Regions from separate parts of the Homo sapiens genome. Here region 2 is linked to region 1. The links are contacts of gene promoters, found by promoter capture Hi-C in blood cells and fetal thymus (Javierre and others, 2016). All regions are on one chromosome and are shown on one strand. Each heading gives the region's core, a stretch centred on a gene start or on the middle of the fragment in contact. The rest is flanking DNA. Distances are from core to core; before and after follow the strand shown.

Region 1 (7,490 bases), core at 2,203-4,702:
CTTCAACAAATTATTTTACAAAATAATCCTATTTTGCTCAAATCTAATCTGACCCAACCAGAACATTTAGTTTGAGTTCTTCAAATGTAAAACAATGGCTATTAAAAAAAAAAAAATGGGAAATATCCCAGCACTTTGGGAAGCTGAGGCAGGAGGATCGCCTGAAGCAGGAGTTCAAGATCAGCATAGGCAACATAGCAAGCCTCCATCTCTTTCACCCAGGCTGTAGTGCAGTGGCGCAATTCCAACGCACTGCTACCCCTGCCTCCTGGGTTCAAGCAATTCTTGTGCCTCAGCCTTCCAAGTAGCTGGAACTATAGGTGCGCGCCACCACCACACCCAGCTAATTTTTTGTATTTTTAGTAGAGACGGGGTTTCACTATGTTAGCCAGGCTGGTCTCGAACTCCTGGCTTCAAGTGATTCACTCACCTCACCCCCATCTCTACAAATTTTTTCTTTTTTTTTCATTAGCCGGGCATGAGCACCTGTAATGCTAGCTATTAGTAGCAGTACTGCTAAGGTGAGGCAGCAAAATGCCTAGAGCCCAGGATTCACGTTACACTGAGCTATAATCACACCAGTGCGCTCCAGTCTGAGCAGCAGATTTGGTAGGCACTTGTAGTCTCAGTTACTTGAGAGGCTGAGGCAGGAGAATCGCTTGAACCCAGGAGATGGAGGCAGCAGTAAGCCAAGATTGCGCCACTGCACTCCAGCCTGGGTGACAGTGAGACTCTGTCTCAAAAATAAACATGAAAATAAAATAAAGTCAAACTCATCACTTTCTCCACAGATTGATCTTCCTCCAATTTGTTTTATTTCTGTTACTGACACAAGTATCACTTGCCCAGGATCAAAATATGGAAAGCTATCTCTGCCTTCTGTTTCATATATCATAATCACTCATTTGTAGGTCCTGGCAATCATTTCTTCTAAATACTACTCACATATTCCCTCCTTTCACCTGCCCACAACCAGCACTCTATTTGAAATCCAGACGACCCTATCCAGTTGGTTTATCTTCCAATCTTTCTTGTTTCCAACCCACTCGGCAGATTCATCTTCCTAATAAACTACCGAAAATAAAAATTTTCAATGGCTCTCTATTGCCTGCAGGATAAAAGTGAAAGACTTCCCTCCCACCCTTAACATTCAAGCCCTCCAAAATCTGATGTAATCCTGCCTTTCCAACTTAGCCTTCTACTGACGCCAAAATCAACCATGTGCTCCAGATGGTCTATTCGTTAACCATAGCCCAGAAATCCACGAACATACCTGTCTCTGCACCTTCGCTCTTGCCAGTGTCTGATTTGGAATATTCACCTCTTCCCCTTCCTGTAGATTTTGTCCACAGTTCAAAGTCCAAGAAAACTCTTATATCCTATATTAAGTCTACCGTGACCATTTTCCACCTCCTATCCCTAAGTTAGTGCAACTATTCTAAAATACAGAATATGCTGAATTTCATCAAAACACCCCCCGAATGTATTTTAATGTAATGTCTAAGTCAAACATTCCACCTACCATTTCTCTAAATGCATAAATTGGTGTAAACCAGGGCTATTTAAAATTATCAAGCCTGGTTTTCCAAACTGCAAAAAGAAAAAACCCAGCTACATTTCTGAGCATAAGCTCTAGTTCAGGGGTGTCCAATCTTTTGGCTTCCCTGGGCCACACTGGAAGAAGAATTGCCTTGGGCCACACATAAAATACACTAATACTAATGATAGCTGATGAACTTAAAAAAAAATCACCAAAAAAGAATCATAATGTTTTAAGAAAGTTTACAAATTTGTGTTGGGCCACATTCAAAGCTGTCCTGGACCACATGCAGCCCGTGGGCCGTGGGTTGGACAAGCTTGCTCTAGTTCCTTATATCACAAGAGGGGCATAGAGGTCATCAAAACTTAGGCAAGTGATGCTGCCCTTTCAATCAGCTCCCCAAACCTACTAAAACTCAGAAATCTTGTCGTTAGATATCATCAAAGTAAAAACTGCTGCTCAATTGGGGAGGGTGGGGACACGAAGGCAGAGCAATATTTACTGAACATTAGCTATGGGGCAGGCACTGTGCTAGGGTGCTCAGCACCATTCTCATTGTGCATATCTAGGAAATAAACATTTCCTATTTTAAAGATCAGAAAACTGAGGCTTAGGGAAATAATGTGCAAGCAAAGAGCTAGCTGACCAGGAAATCTGATTCCAAATTTTGTCCCTTTCCACTACAACAGGATGCCAGTCCACAATGAAAAATGAAGCTGCACTGAACATATACTCTGTACGACTATCCTAAAGCCCGCATGCTCTAGCAAACAAATGGTTTAATCCGATCAGAAACAGGTACATGTGATTTCCAAGAAAGGAAGCTGAAATGCGGAGTTCCTCATACGTTTTTTCTTATATTTAATTACTTAAACCTGGATGGTGCAATACAACATTGGGCAACAACTAAGCCTAGATGCTTTGTCAAGAGATGGGAAGAGTTGTAGCCGACATGGCTACTGCAGTGCTAAATTCAACCACCATTTATTGCTCTGGAAAACAGTTTGAATACTGCAACTTAAGTTTTAACATGGATCGATAGAAAAATTTAAAAGCTGAGAAACGATTGGGAACTACAGCAGATGTAGTTATTGAATTTACAGATCTGCAACCACCGGGGACAACCAAAATAATCACTTTGTAGACAGTTGTTAAAACAACTCCTTTCCAACACTCACTACAAAACGGCACAGTGAAGGAAGCAACTTCGCTCCTTTGGCGAATGAGTCAACTCCTGGATGTGAAAGGTCCCTGCAAGTACTAACACCCGCCAGAACAAAGGGGCGGGTGCCGGGGGTGTTGCGTGGGGAACAGGAGGAGGCAAATGGCCCGCACTTATCCCGGCACCCGACTGTCGCAAGCGACCGCCCTTGGGACCCCCAATATCCGACGAAGAGCACGGCGCAGGGCCTCTCCCAGAAAAACAGCGACGCTTCTCTCCCGAGGGCGGCCGTGGCTCAGGCAGGGCTGGTCCGGGCGCCGCGGGGACGAGCGGAGAGCAGGCGGGCAGGCCGAGACGGGGCGCGCCCGGAGAGGCCCACTCGGACCCGAGTGAGGGGCGGCCGGCAACCCAGGCAGGGCAAGTGCGTGCAGGGCAGCAGGGCCCGTCGGGTAGGGCAGCCAGCCTCTCCTACCCGCTCCGGGGCCCGCGCCACCGCCCCGGCCAGGCCAGCTCCCAGGGAGCCCACGCCCGCCGCCGGGCGCCTCCCTAGTCCCACACACCTGCCCGGGTGCCCAACTGGCCCACCCTCAGCCGTGTCCCCCGGCAAGGCGTTCGCCTGCCTCAGGCAAGGATACGAAGTAGACCGAGAGGAAGATGAGCGCGCAACAATCGAGGAGAGAGAAGACGAACACCACCGCCTCCATCCTCCTCCTCCGTCGCCGCCGCTCCTTCCGTCAAACCCGCTCGGATGCCCCGACCCACCCCTGATAGGCCCTTGCCGGGGCTGGCTGAGGCGTGTGGTCCTCGAATCCTGGTGTGGCATGCCGGGAGTTGTAGTCCATATTTTAAAAAACTCTACGGCCCTAATTCTGACGCATGCTGGGAATTGTAGTTCATTAGTACAAGTCCATATCAAAGAGGTGGGCAGGGCCTCTTTCATAAATCCGATTATTTCCAGAAATGGAATTAATCAACAAGTATTTACTCAACGCTTTTCTTTTAAAGAGCTGGGGTCTTGCTCTGTCGTCCAGGCTGGAGTGCAGTGGCGTGATAGAGCTCACTATGACCTCGAATTCCTGGGCTCAAGCAATCCTTCCACCTCAGCCTCCCGACATGCCCAGCTAATTTTATTTTATTATTTCTCATTTTATTTTATTTTTTGAGACAGGGTCTCACTCTGTCGCCCAGGCTGGAGTGCAGTGGCATGGTCACAGCTCACTGCAGCCTCTACCTCCTGGCCTCAGGTGATCCTCCCACCTCCGCCTCCTGAGTACCTGGGATTACAGGAATGTACCACCACGCCTGGCTAATTTTTTGTATTTTTAATAGAGATGGGGTTTTTGCCATGTTGCCCAGGCTGGTCTCGAATTCCTCGGCTCAAGCGATCTGCCTGCCTCAGTCTCCCACAGTGCTGGAATTACAGGCCTGAGCCACTGCACCAGTCTCTACTGAACGCTTTTAATCCGGATATCCAGTAGGATGTATTTCCCATGTGTGAAATTTTCTTTAGAGTTGGCTCTAGAACCATTGCATTCCCTGACTTAGGATTTGTAAGGGGTTTTCATCTCAAAGCACAAATCTAACTTAATGCTCCTGGCTTGACTTTTGCGATTTGCCCTTCCCTTCCTGATTTCAATTTCTCCAGAGATTTCACAGTCCTTTGTTTATCCTCTCCTACAGCAATGTTTCTCTCCTCTCTAGATTTTAAGATCTTTAAGAAGTGAATACGATGTCTTACTCATCCATTCATTCATTTAACAAATACAGTTGTATTTGCAGGGGCTACTTTCCAAGACCCCCAAGTGGATGCCTGACACGATGGATAGTACCAAACCTTATGTGTACTATGTTTTTTCCTATATATACATACCTATGATAAAGCTTAATTTATAGATCAGGCACAGTAGGAGATTAACAAGTAATAATAAGATAGAACAATTATACTGTAATAAAAGTTATGTAAATGTGGTCTTTCTGTCTCAAAATATCTTATTGTACTGACCCTTCTTTTTGAGATGATGTATGATGATAAAATGCCTATGTGATAAGATGAAGAGACAGATGCAGCCTCTCCAGTGATTTTTATATTTTTCAGTCCAAATCTATTCTTACATTCATGTAACTATCCATTACTTGCAGTAAGTGGCTTGGTATCACTCGTTTTAGGGAATCCCTCACTGAAGTCTTTGTATAGGCTCAATACTTTCTGGCTCAACACGTTGCCATCAATTGGCACATGTTTTCTGTTCATGTCTTCCACCCACAAATGTAATGCCTCTTCCATCTTTTTTGTGGTTGTTGTTTTAGTTTTTCTGAGATGAAGTTCACTCTGTCACCCAGGCTGGAGTGCAGTGGCGCCATTTCAGCTCTCTGCAACCTCCACCTCCCAAGTTCAAGCGATTCTCCTGCCTCAGCCTCCGGAGTAGCTGAGATTACAGGTGCATGCCACCACACCCAGATAATTTTTTGTATTTTTAGTAGAGTTGGGGTTTCGCCATGTTGGCCAGGCTGGTCTCAAACTCCTGGCCTCAAGTGATCCACCTACCTTGACCTCCCAAAGTGCTGGGATTACAGGCATGAGCCACTGTGCTGTGCCGCCTTTTCCATCTTAACTAAGCACTTATCAGGCACTGTGGCCATAACTTTTGTAGTCTGAGTTGCAACAGCAAAACTAGCACAAATTCCTTTTTCCTTTTTCAGAAATTCACAGATAAAAGACTGGTTCTTACCATAGATCTTAGCAGTCTCATAGGGTTTTTTTTTCTTTCCTTAAGTCAAGAACTTTGACCATTTCACTTAAAGGGAGCACTTCATGGCTTCTCTTTGGCATATCTGAATTGCCAGTATTCACTGCTCTTGAACTTTGGGCCATTGTTAAGTACAATAATGGGTACTTGAACATAAGCACTGCAATACTGCTGCAGTCAATCTGATAACTGATAAGATGGCTACTACGTGACTAACAGGTAGGTGGCATAGACAGCATGGATATGCTGGACAAGGGGATAGATAATTCATGTCCCAGGCAGGATGAAGTGAGCAGCAGGAGATTTCATTACACTCCTAAGAGTGGCACACAATTTAAAATTCATGGATTGTATATTTCTGAAATTTTCCATTTAACATTTTAGGACTGTGATTGACCTCAGGTAAATGAAACCAGTGAAAGCAAAACTGTGGATGAGACTGCTGTATTTACTGACAACACACCTGCTATAGGCCAAGAACTGCTCTAGACTCCAGAGATATAAAAATAAACAAGGCAAACAAGTTGCTGCTCTAGTAGGGTGAGTGGGAGGAACAGGCAATAAAGTATAACAAAGTATGGGAAAAAGATAACTTCAAGCAGTGATAAGCTCTGTGAGCGGTTGTGTCAAAGTTATTTATTCATTCAACCAATATTTTCTGAGCAGCCAGAATATATGAGCTACTGTTCCAAACCTTGGGAAAAGTCCCCACAAGCCTGTGGTTTACATTACAGTGAGAAAGACAGACGACAAAATAAATATACTAATGACAGGCAGTCATAAGTACTTGGAAGGGGATGGGGAAAGACGGAGTGATCAGAGAAAGCCAAGCTGAGGAAATGACACTTAAGTAGAAATTTGAACAATAGCTATGTGAAGGTCTGCGGGCAGAATGTTTCAGAAAGTAGGAACAATAATTTCAGAGGCCCAGTTGTATATAGAGGCTTGATGTGTTAAAGGAATAGAAAAAAAGACTACTGTGGTCTTGTGGCTAAAGCACAGGGGAAAAGGGTGAGAGAGTGCTGAGAGGAAGAGAAGGAGGCAGGGTAAGGTTATATGGGCCCTGTAGACCCTTGGCAAGGATTTTTATCCTAATATGATGAGAAACCACTGCAGAGTTCTAAGCAAAAAAGTAGCTTAATCTGATTTACATTTTTAAAATCTCATTCTGGCTATTTAGCGCACTGAATGTGTGAAAGGGAAACAAGTTTGTCAGCAGGGAGATCACATGGAGAGTAGAACAGGAGAATTACTATGAAGGCAAAACCAACTGAGCCGGGCGCGGTGATTCACGCCTGTAATCCTAGCACTTTGGGAGGCCGAGGCGGGCGGATCACCTGAGGTCGGGAGTTCGAGACCAGCCTGACCAACACGGAGAAACCCCGTCTCTACTAAAAATACAAAATTAGCCAGGGGTGGTGGTGCATGCCTGTAATCCCAGCTACTTGGGAGGCTGAGGCAGGAGAATCACTTGAACCCAGGAGGTGGAGGTTGCAGTGAGCTGAGATTGCTCCATTGCACTCCAGCCTGGGCAACAAAATGAAACTATGTCTCAAAAAAATAAGCAAACAACAACAACAAAAAACACAAAAACCCAACTGGATTTGCCTGATGCAGTACAGGTTCATAGATTCATAAAGGGTTCACAGGTTAAAGCTAGACATACAATTAACAGATTATCTAATTAATTAAACCAGCTATTACCAAACTCCCATTGTACCTTGTACATATCTCTATCAGAATATTCATTACATACTCAGTTATCTTAAGGTGAAAAAAAATACTCATCAACTATCTTCCTTATGTGCTTAGCCAGTCACACTGAGGGGTGACAGCGTGCTGGCAATCGTCACAGCCCTCACTCGCTCTCGCTCGCTCTCGGCGCCTCCTCTGCCTGGGCTCCCACTTTGGCGCCACTTGAGGAGTCCTTCAGCCCGCCGCTGCACTGTGGGAGCCCCCTTCTGGGCTGGCCAAGGCCGGAGCCGGCTCCCTCAGCTTGCGGGGAGGTGTGGAGGCAGAGGCGCGGGCGGGAACCGGGGCT
Region 2 (7,490 bases), core at 3,184-5,683, 520 kb after region 1:
TGTTTTTTTTTAGACAGAGTCTTGCTCTATCACCCAGGCTGGAGTGCAGTGGCGTGGCGCCATCTCAGCTCACTGCAACCTCTGCCTCCTGGGCTCAAGTGATTCTCTAGCAGCAGCCTCCCGAGTAGTTGGGATTACAGGAGTGCGCCACCACACTCAGCTAAATTTTTTTTTCTATTTTTAGTAGAGACAGAGTTTCACCATGTTGGCCAGGCTGGTCTCGAGCTCCTGACCTCAAGTGATCTGCCTCCCAAAGTGCTGGGATTACAGGCGTGAGCCACCGCAGTTGGCCGAACTTTCACTTCAGTTGTTTTTCTGGATACAGATTTATAACTTAATACTACTTTATTTAAATTTCAAACATATCAACCCAAAATTCCTTAAGGCACAAGCATAGAAAAGTGGTAGAAAACCATAATGAATAAACTATTATAGATTACCAGTTTAAACTACTTGTGGTAATAAAAAATGATTAAGGCAATTTACTGTTCTTCCACAGGGGAGTGAACAATTTATATGTAAAAGCAGGGGGAGTGGAAGCTTCACTCTAACTTCCCTCCCAGGGATGAAGAGGAGCCCCCTTTCTGTGCCTCACACTGTGCCTGGTGATTTAGGTTGGTCATCCCGTCTAATCCCCTTATTACACTCTGAAGTTGATCTTCCCACTCTCATTCAACAGATAAGGAATTTGAAGCTCAAAGGGCTTAAGTAATTTGTTTCTGGTCACTAGTAGAAATGAGATTCGAACTGTCTGCCTGCAAACACATACTCTGTTCAAGATGGCAAATGCTTGGGTTAGAATATTTTTATATGTTTGACAGGACAAACAATGGTAATGATGTTCTTTTGGCTAATGGTAACTTCAAAAATTGCTTTTCAAAGCATAACCTTACTGTAGTTTTAAAGTAGAAAAGGAAAAATGGAAAAAAAAAAAAAAGAAAAAAATGGAGACATCGTCCCTTATTTAAATCCATACTGATGAGAAGATTGGCAGATAGTTCTCTTATCAACTTTCAAATGATGTGGAGGTGGTTACCTCCCCCTGGGCAAAGGAAACATCTCAATAGCTATTTCTTCCCACCTCTATCTAATATTACCATAGAGATCTCAGATCTTCCACATCTGCAGGGAAAGAGAAGGGGTGTGATAATTAGCTTTTGTATGAGGGGTGTTGAGTAGTCTTTCCTGAGATGATATCTGTAAATACGGCTTGAAGTTGATGATGTATTAGGTTGGTGCAAAAGTAATTGCGGTTCTTACCATCACCTTTGATGGCAAAACCACAATTACTTTTGGATCACCCTAATAGGAAAGGAGCAGAGTAGGATAGGCATGTTGGGAGAAGTGGAGGACAGGGACGCATAGAATGTCTGCTGTGAGATGACCAGTGACATTCAGCCATTTCCAGTTGCTCGAATGGTGCAGCAGTGACTTTGAAGTGTCCAGATGGGAGTGGAGTGAGTGTCTCCACTTGCAGCTTCAGGGCTGCCCGTGTAGTAGGGAGCAGTAATTCAATGTAGTCAGATACCTTTGTTGGAAATAGATTAGGGGCTGATTTTGAATGAAATCACATTAAATCATTGCTTTTCATTCTCCCTCATTAACCATTTAATTGTTTTTGGATGGCCTTTTGGGGATAACATCTGCTCAACAAATATTTAGTTAACATCTTCTGTATTCCAGGCACTGTTGTAAATGCCATGGAGACAGGAAAGGAAGTTTTCAGGGAGCTTAGCTTTCTTTCATAGTGCTTAATGGGAGATTTGGGTGGGAGAGAGAGAAAATAAACAAAAAAGAAAAACATGAGAGTTAAATGGGATTTAAGAAGGGTAATGTGACTGCGATGGCTACTTTAGATTGGATGGTCAGGAAGTGACATTTCAGCTGAGACCTGAATGACAAGAAGGAGCTGGTCCTGTGAAGATTTGCAGGTGGAGCATTTCAAGTGGGCACGATTCCTAGGGACTGGTGCAGAGGCCGGGAGGAAGCACTGGAGGCTGGGGCAAGGGGAGAGGGGCGGCGGGGGCGGGGCAGGGCTTCGTGGGCAGAGGGCAGAGTGACAAGAGCCGAAGCAAAAGACCTGTCAGCATATAGGTTTTCGCGGGCCAGAGGGAAGGGTGGAGGTGGCATGGGAAGGGACGTGGGAGCCACAGAAGAGGTTTAGTTAGCAAAAGTGACAACCTGATTGATTAGGAAAGCTCACTCTGTTGCTGTGTGGACAGTGGACCTTAGAGGTGCCAGAGTGTAAGACTTGGGCAAGGTGGGAAGAGTAGGAAAGTCTACAGAAAGCTGCCAAAAATAAATTAAAGGGTTTTAATTTTATTTATTTTTTATTTTTTACCACACCTAAGGCCCAGCTGACAGAATTGGTTGTGAAGGCACTCAAGAGTTTGTCACTTGCTCTAATAAATTGTTTTAGTGACCCTCAGAAGCCCCAGGGGTGAGAGGAGAAACAGTAGCACTTACCCGGGGTTGGAAGTAAGACCAGACAGGAATGGTGGAAGATCACTCCTGTATCCACAAGCTCCTTCCTATGGGGCTAAAGAGAAACCATACTTTTTATATCACCACAGAGCTCTGACAGCTACACAGAGCAGTTTAAATTTAGGCTTGAGAAAAAGCCTTCTGTCACCATGTTTCTTTTCAACTGAGTAGGGTGTATCAGGTTTCTCAAGGAAGCCATAGTCTGTCTTAAAATGCTTTAGGACAGCTTTACTTTTGACCACATGACCAGAGTGCTCTGGAAGCTTCTGATGCTTCAACCTAAAAGTTCCTTGACCCCCCGCCCCCCCCCTTTTTTTTTTAATTTTAAAACAATAGTATCTTCATTTTCCTGACACAAAGTAGCGAGTGACCTAGGAAAATCAAGTCTGAGTTAACTTTAATTCTAGAACGGTCTCTTTGTGGCAGTGTTTTCTGCATCACAACAAAATCTAGATAATAACTGCTTAGTTTGTGATATGTAGGTAATTTTCAAAAATTTTGTTAATTTCCTGAAAAGTTTGGGGGGTATCTATTTTGGATAATGCATTTATTTTAAAGGTAGATAGGATCTTTCTCTGGTAGGTTTTGCTTGTTGCTTTTAGTAGCCACGGACCTGGGCTTTCATCCTGCTGCTTTTCCTCTCTTCTGTCTTCTCCTGGAGCTGTTGAGTCACCAGGGCACACAGATCCCTCTTCTCCATTTCCTGGGGCACCTGTTTGGCCTCACCCCTCTCCTGCCTGGACTGTTGTAATGCTCTCCTTATCTATTTTCTTACCTTTTCTGTTCTCTGCCCCATCAGGCCATTTAACACACTGCTTCCCTGGTGGTCTTTCTGAAACAGCAATGTGTCTCTTCCCTCTCCAGAATTCTTCAAGTCTGACCTCTGTTCCTTACAGCATAAAATATATAAACTCTTTAGTGAGATAGAAAGTTTCTTTATTGTGTAGCCCAGTGGATTTCAGCCTTTTTGTGTCATTGATACATTTCCATTTCAGAATTTTTAGCTGCATAATGGAAATGATTGAAAAACTCAAAACACCAAGTCAGTTATTAAAACATAGCACCAGCTATGGCACAGTAGTGGGAATGCCTTGTGCTGTGCAGAAGAGCATCCGGTCACCTCGTGGTTCATTCGGCCTTCCTTCGGAATTGTGTTTCCTCTTGCTCACAGCAAGTTGTACTCTGTTGCATATTGCTCTCCACTCTTGCATATTGCCCTCCATGACGTGCTCCGCTCCATCGGACTTTGCCATAACAGCATGTGTATAAAACAAATTTTGTGCATTGAAAGTTTTTGCAGCACATTCGTGGCTTGTGGGTTGGGAATTGACCCATCTCTTCTTTGTCCTGCCTTGCGTCCCACCTCTGTGCTTCAACAGTTCCAGGACTATAGTTGTGAGGGCATGCCACAGTTTCCTGTGTCTTTATACACAGTGTTTCTCTCCCTAGATGGTCCTCTTCCTGCTTGTCTTATTCATCCTACAGTTTTAGCTTAATAGTACTTCTTTTATGTTAAGCCTTCTTCCACTGCTTGGAGGGGATTTTTTTTTCTGTTCTCACTGGACTTCAAATGCTTTAAATGTACTTTCACCAGGAAGTTCTCATTTCTCAACATTGCACCCTTTTCGTGGTTTGCAGTGCTTCTTCATTGTTCCATAAGCTCTGTGAGGACATGGAGCATGCCTTTTCATCTTTGTGTTTCTAGCACTTAGCACAGTGTTTGGCACACTGTAGGGATTTAATAAATATTGTTTGAGTTAATGGATGAATGAATATTCTTATTTTGGATTTTCTTTGGTGAGTGTAGTTCTTGCCTCTACTTCCATAGCAAAGTGGGAGGTAGGAAGGAAATAACTAGAAGCAATGGATCGGTTGTAGTTAGATCATCACGGATAGATCTTAAAAATGTAGTGCTTAGTGAGTAAAAGTAAAAAACAGAATGAAATCTGTAACAGTACCTTTACATAAAATAAGACGAATGCCTGGCAAACAAGACTCAGTTTAGAAGGAAGCACACCAACACTAAACTTATCAATAGTTGGAGCCGGGGAGGAATTAACTAAATGTATTTGTTCTTTTGCTTTATACATTGATTGTTTATGACAGATATTGAAGCAGAGTAACCTAAGATGAGTTGCTTTAGAGGATACGTTCAGAATTTGAAACTTATCTAAATTCAGCTTCAGGCATAGTTGAAAGAAGAGAAAAGGTTTCTTAATTTTACTTAAAGCAGAATTCTTTGAGACATTGTCTGGCTTTGAAAACATTCACTGTGAAGTAATACCATTTATAGATAAACATTTCTTGATGCTTCAGGATGTGAACATCCTCTTTGTCATGTTCTTGTTGCCTGTTAACTTTCTCCTCTTCGTGGAACTTTGAATCCCTGCGTCACAGTTTCAGTTCAGTCCAACAAACATGTATTGCATATTTGCTTTGTGTGAGATCTGACAGAGTTTTTTGGGGAGTGAGTTATAATGTAGGAGGAGGAAAACCAGGGAGGAGGCATTTAAGAACCAAAACATGTGTACTAAAGAATGTATAGACCAGTAGGACAGATAAGACAGGGATACAGACAACTACAGTGTGAATGGTTGTCAGAGAAGCAAAGAGAACATTTACTTCTGGCTGGAGGTGAGTGTGTGGGTAGGGATGGATGGATTGGAGGAAGTTTTATGGTCTTTGAGTTATTCTGGAAGGATGGGGATGAATTGACACTACAGGACAGAGTAGGAATCAGGTGAGCTACTCTGGGGAGAGAAGTGAGGAAAAGTGGCTATTTTAGATTCCTCATTTGGTGACTCGAGGCTATAACTGTGGAGTAGATAATTTAAAATAAATTTTAGGTCTTAATATTTCTTGTAATTGAAATGGAATTCCCTGAAATTCAAAATATGCAAATATAAATACCAGTGTATATGTGTCATAATGTATTGCTATTGTTGTTGGGTTAACTACTGGTATTATAATTAATATATACTACATAGATTAATACACACTGTTGTTATCTGCTAGTGAAATTAATACTCTACATTATTTGCAGCAAATTACTCAGAAACCTAGTTTCATGTTACTTCCCTGCTCAAAACCCTCTAATGCAGTGGTTCTTAAACTTAAGTGTGAGTACTGGGCCTCTCCTCTGGGGTTTCTGAATCAGGAGATGTGGAGCAGGGCCTGGAACTTTATATTTCTGACAAGTTCCCAGGTGATGCTTATGCTGTTTGTCTGAGAATTGCATGTTGTAAATCACTACTCTAGTGACTTTTCCCTTGCAATAAAGTCCGTACTCCTTATTCTTGACCTACAAGGCCCTGCCTGAGCTACCCCCTGTTCTCCCTGCCCTCATTGGCATAAGTCTGTATTCCTGATGTGGCGTTTTTTTCTGGTCATGGAATAGTCCAAGTTCATTACCACCTCTGGGCCTTTGATGAAATGTCTTCCTTCAGATGTTTCAAGTGGCTGTGGCTTCTTCAGTCTCAGCTCAAAAGTCCCCTTCACCCTGAGGTGTCTTTCCTAATCATGATCAGCCATCCTCCCCTCATCACTTCCATAATTCTTTATCATATCGCTTTATATACCATGCTCATTTGTGTGCTACCAGCCTCTCTTCTCTGCCCTAAAGAAGGCAAGCTTTTTCATCACTGTGTTCCTTTTGCTTTAACTGTCCTTTCTTAATAGGTATTTAGTAAGTACTAACGGGTGAATGAACGAAACTTCTTGTTGAAGTCAGCAAGAAGTTAGGATTGAGGGGAAGGCATAGAACCAGGAGCTTCTTTGGCATGGCTGGCTTTGATAGGATATGACTCCTATAGGTTTCTATGTAGAGGTCCCTGTTACCTATTCATGTATATGAAGTGGTTCTTTTACCAGACATCTATGACCAGCAGGCTACTTTATGATTTTTTCCTTAATTAAAGTAACTACTTCATATTTGCTCTATCATTTTTTTCCAGAATGTTGACTATTTCAGAATATGATTGTGTGCTCCAGATGATATTGAATGGATGGTCAGGATAGTCCATGCCTGATTAACATTTTTAACAGAATATTGTTCAAATTGATATTGAGACTTCACGTTATTGATTTCTGAATTCTACTAACTTGCTGTAAGTGAGCAAAGGAATAGTTTATGAAGTAAAAAAAATCCTTTGAATATGACTTTATGATTTTGCTTTAAATAAACTCAGATGTAACTGATAGGAACTGATGGGTTAATGTTAAAAATATGCCATCATATAAAGTGGTACACTTAGTGTAGAAGTAGGTTTAATATCATTGAGCCTTAATAGAACATCGGTATACATAACTTATGGTAATTGGTGAATATTTTTAAAAGCAGTTTAATGGCTCCAAGAGTAAACTCTAGAGAAACAGCTAAGAAATCATGATAGGCCTTTGTAAGCAGTGATTCTCTGATAACTTTAATAAGGTTGGGACCCATCGTCAGGGAGGTAGAGAGTGTCTCTTTGAGGGAAAGGACTCAAATATGTAGTGTCCCTGTGGCTCCTGAGGAAGGTTCCACAGAGACCCCTGTGGGTTGCCTACTCAGATATTGGGGAGACGAGGAAGGACAGCTCAAGCTCAAGCTGGGGTAGTGGAGCAGCACACTTCTTGCAGAAGACTGGCAGCCTAGCTCACAGCTAGGGTGCAGCATGTCTGAATTAGGGAGCCAAGCTCATGAGTGCCCTTGGTGTGCAGACTCAGCTGGCAGAGTGAGCATTGGAGCAGAGCTCCAGGTCTGTGCAGAGACAGGCAGAGTACTCTTGAGGACTGGAAGGGTCGGCATCTCCTTCCTAAACCCCGCCCAGTGTTAGAAGTCATAGTTGGGCTAAATGGCTGTGTATGAGTTTGAAAGAAACTTTGGTTATATCTTAATTTAATCCCCACTCTGTATCACAGTGTTGGGAGAGGTGTTTTTGCTTGACTGGGTTATAGGAAGCCTAGTGGCATTCTCCTCTTACAAGAAATATTTTCGGGCCTGCCTCCATAAGGGGTACAACAAAATA

The links. The method cuts DNA at HindIII sites, captures the fragments that hold promoters and counts their contacts. A CHiCAGO score of 5 or more calls a contact.
Region 2: a fragment that was not itself captured here is called in contact with the fragment with the promoter of CNIH4 in region 1 in 4 of 17 cell types (naive B cells, total B cells, monocytes and 1 more); the score reaches 7.2 in naive B cells.

The regions. Positions count from the first base shown.
Region 1 is chr1:224,352,841-224,360,330 of GRCh38, reverse strand. CNIH4 (cornichon family member 4) reads right to left here and starts at 3,452. Exons shown (of 5, transcript NM_014184.4): 1 at 3,338-3,452. The coding sequence starts at 3,406. RefSeq lists enhancers at 2,602-3,102, 3,660-3,799 and a silencer at 3,010-3,379. The HindIII fragment of the contact is 2,727 bases long and covers 1,859-4,585 here.
Region 2 is chr1:223,832,460-223,839,949 of GRCh38, reverse strand. The region is part of intron 1 of TP53BP2 (tumor protein p53 binding protein 2); the gene reads left to right. Among named protein-coding and RNA genes, the nearest start is that of TP53BP2, 9.7 kb to the left of the region's middle. The HindIII fragment of the contact is 3,367 bases long and covers 2,750-6,116 here.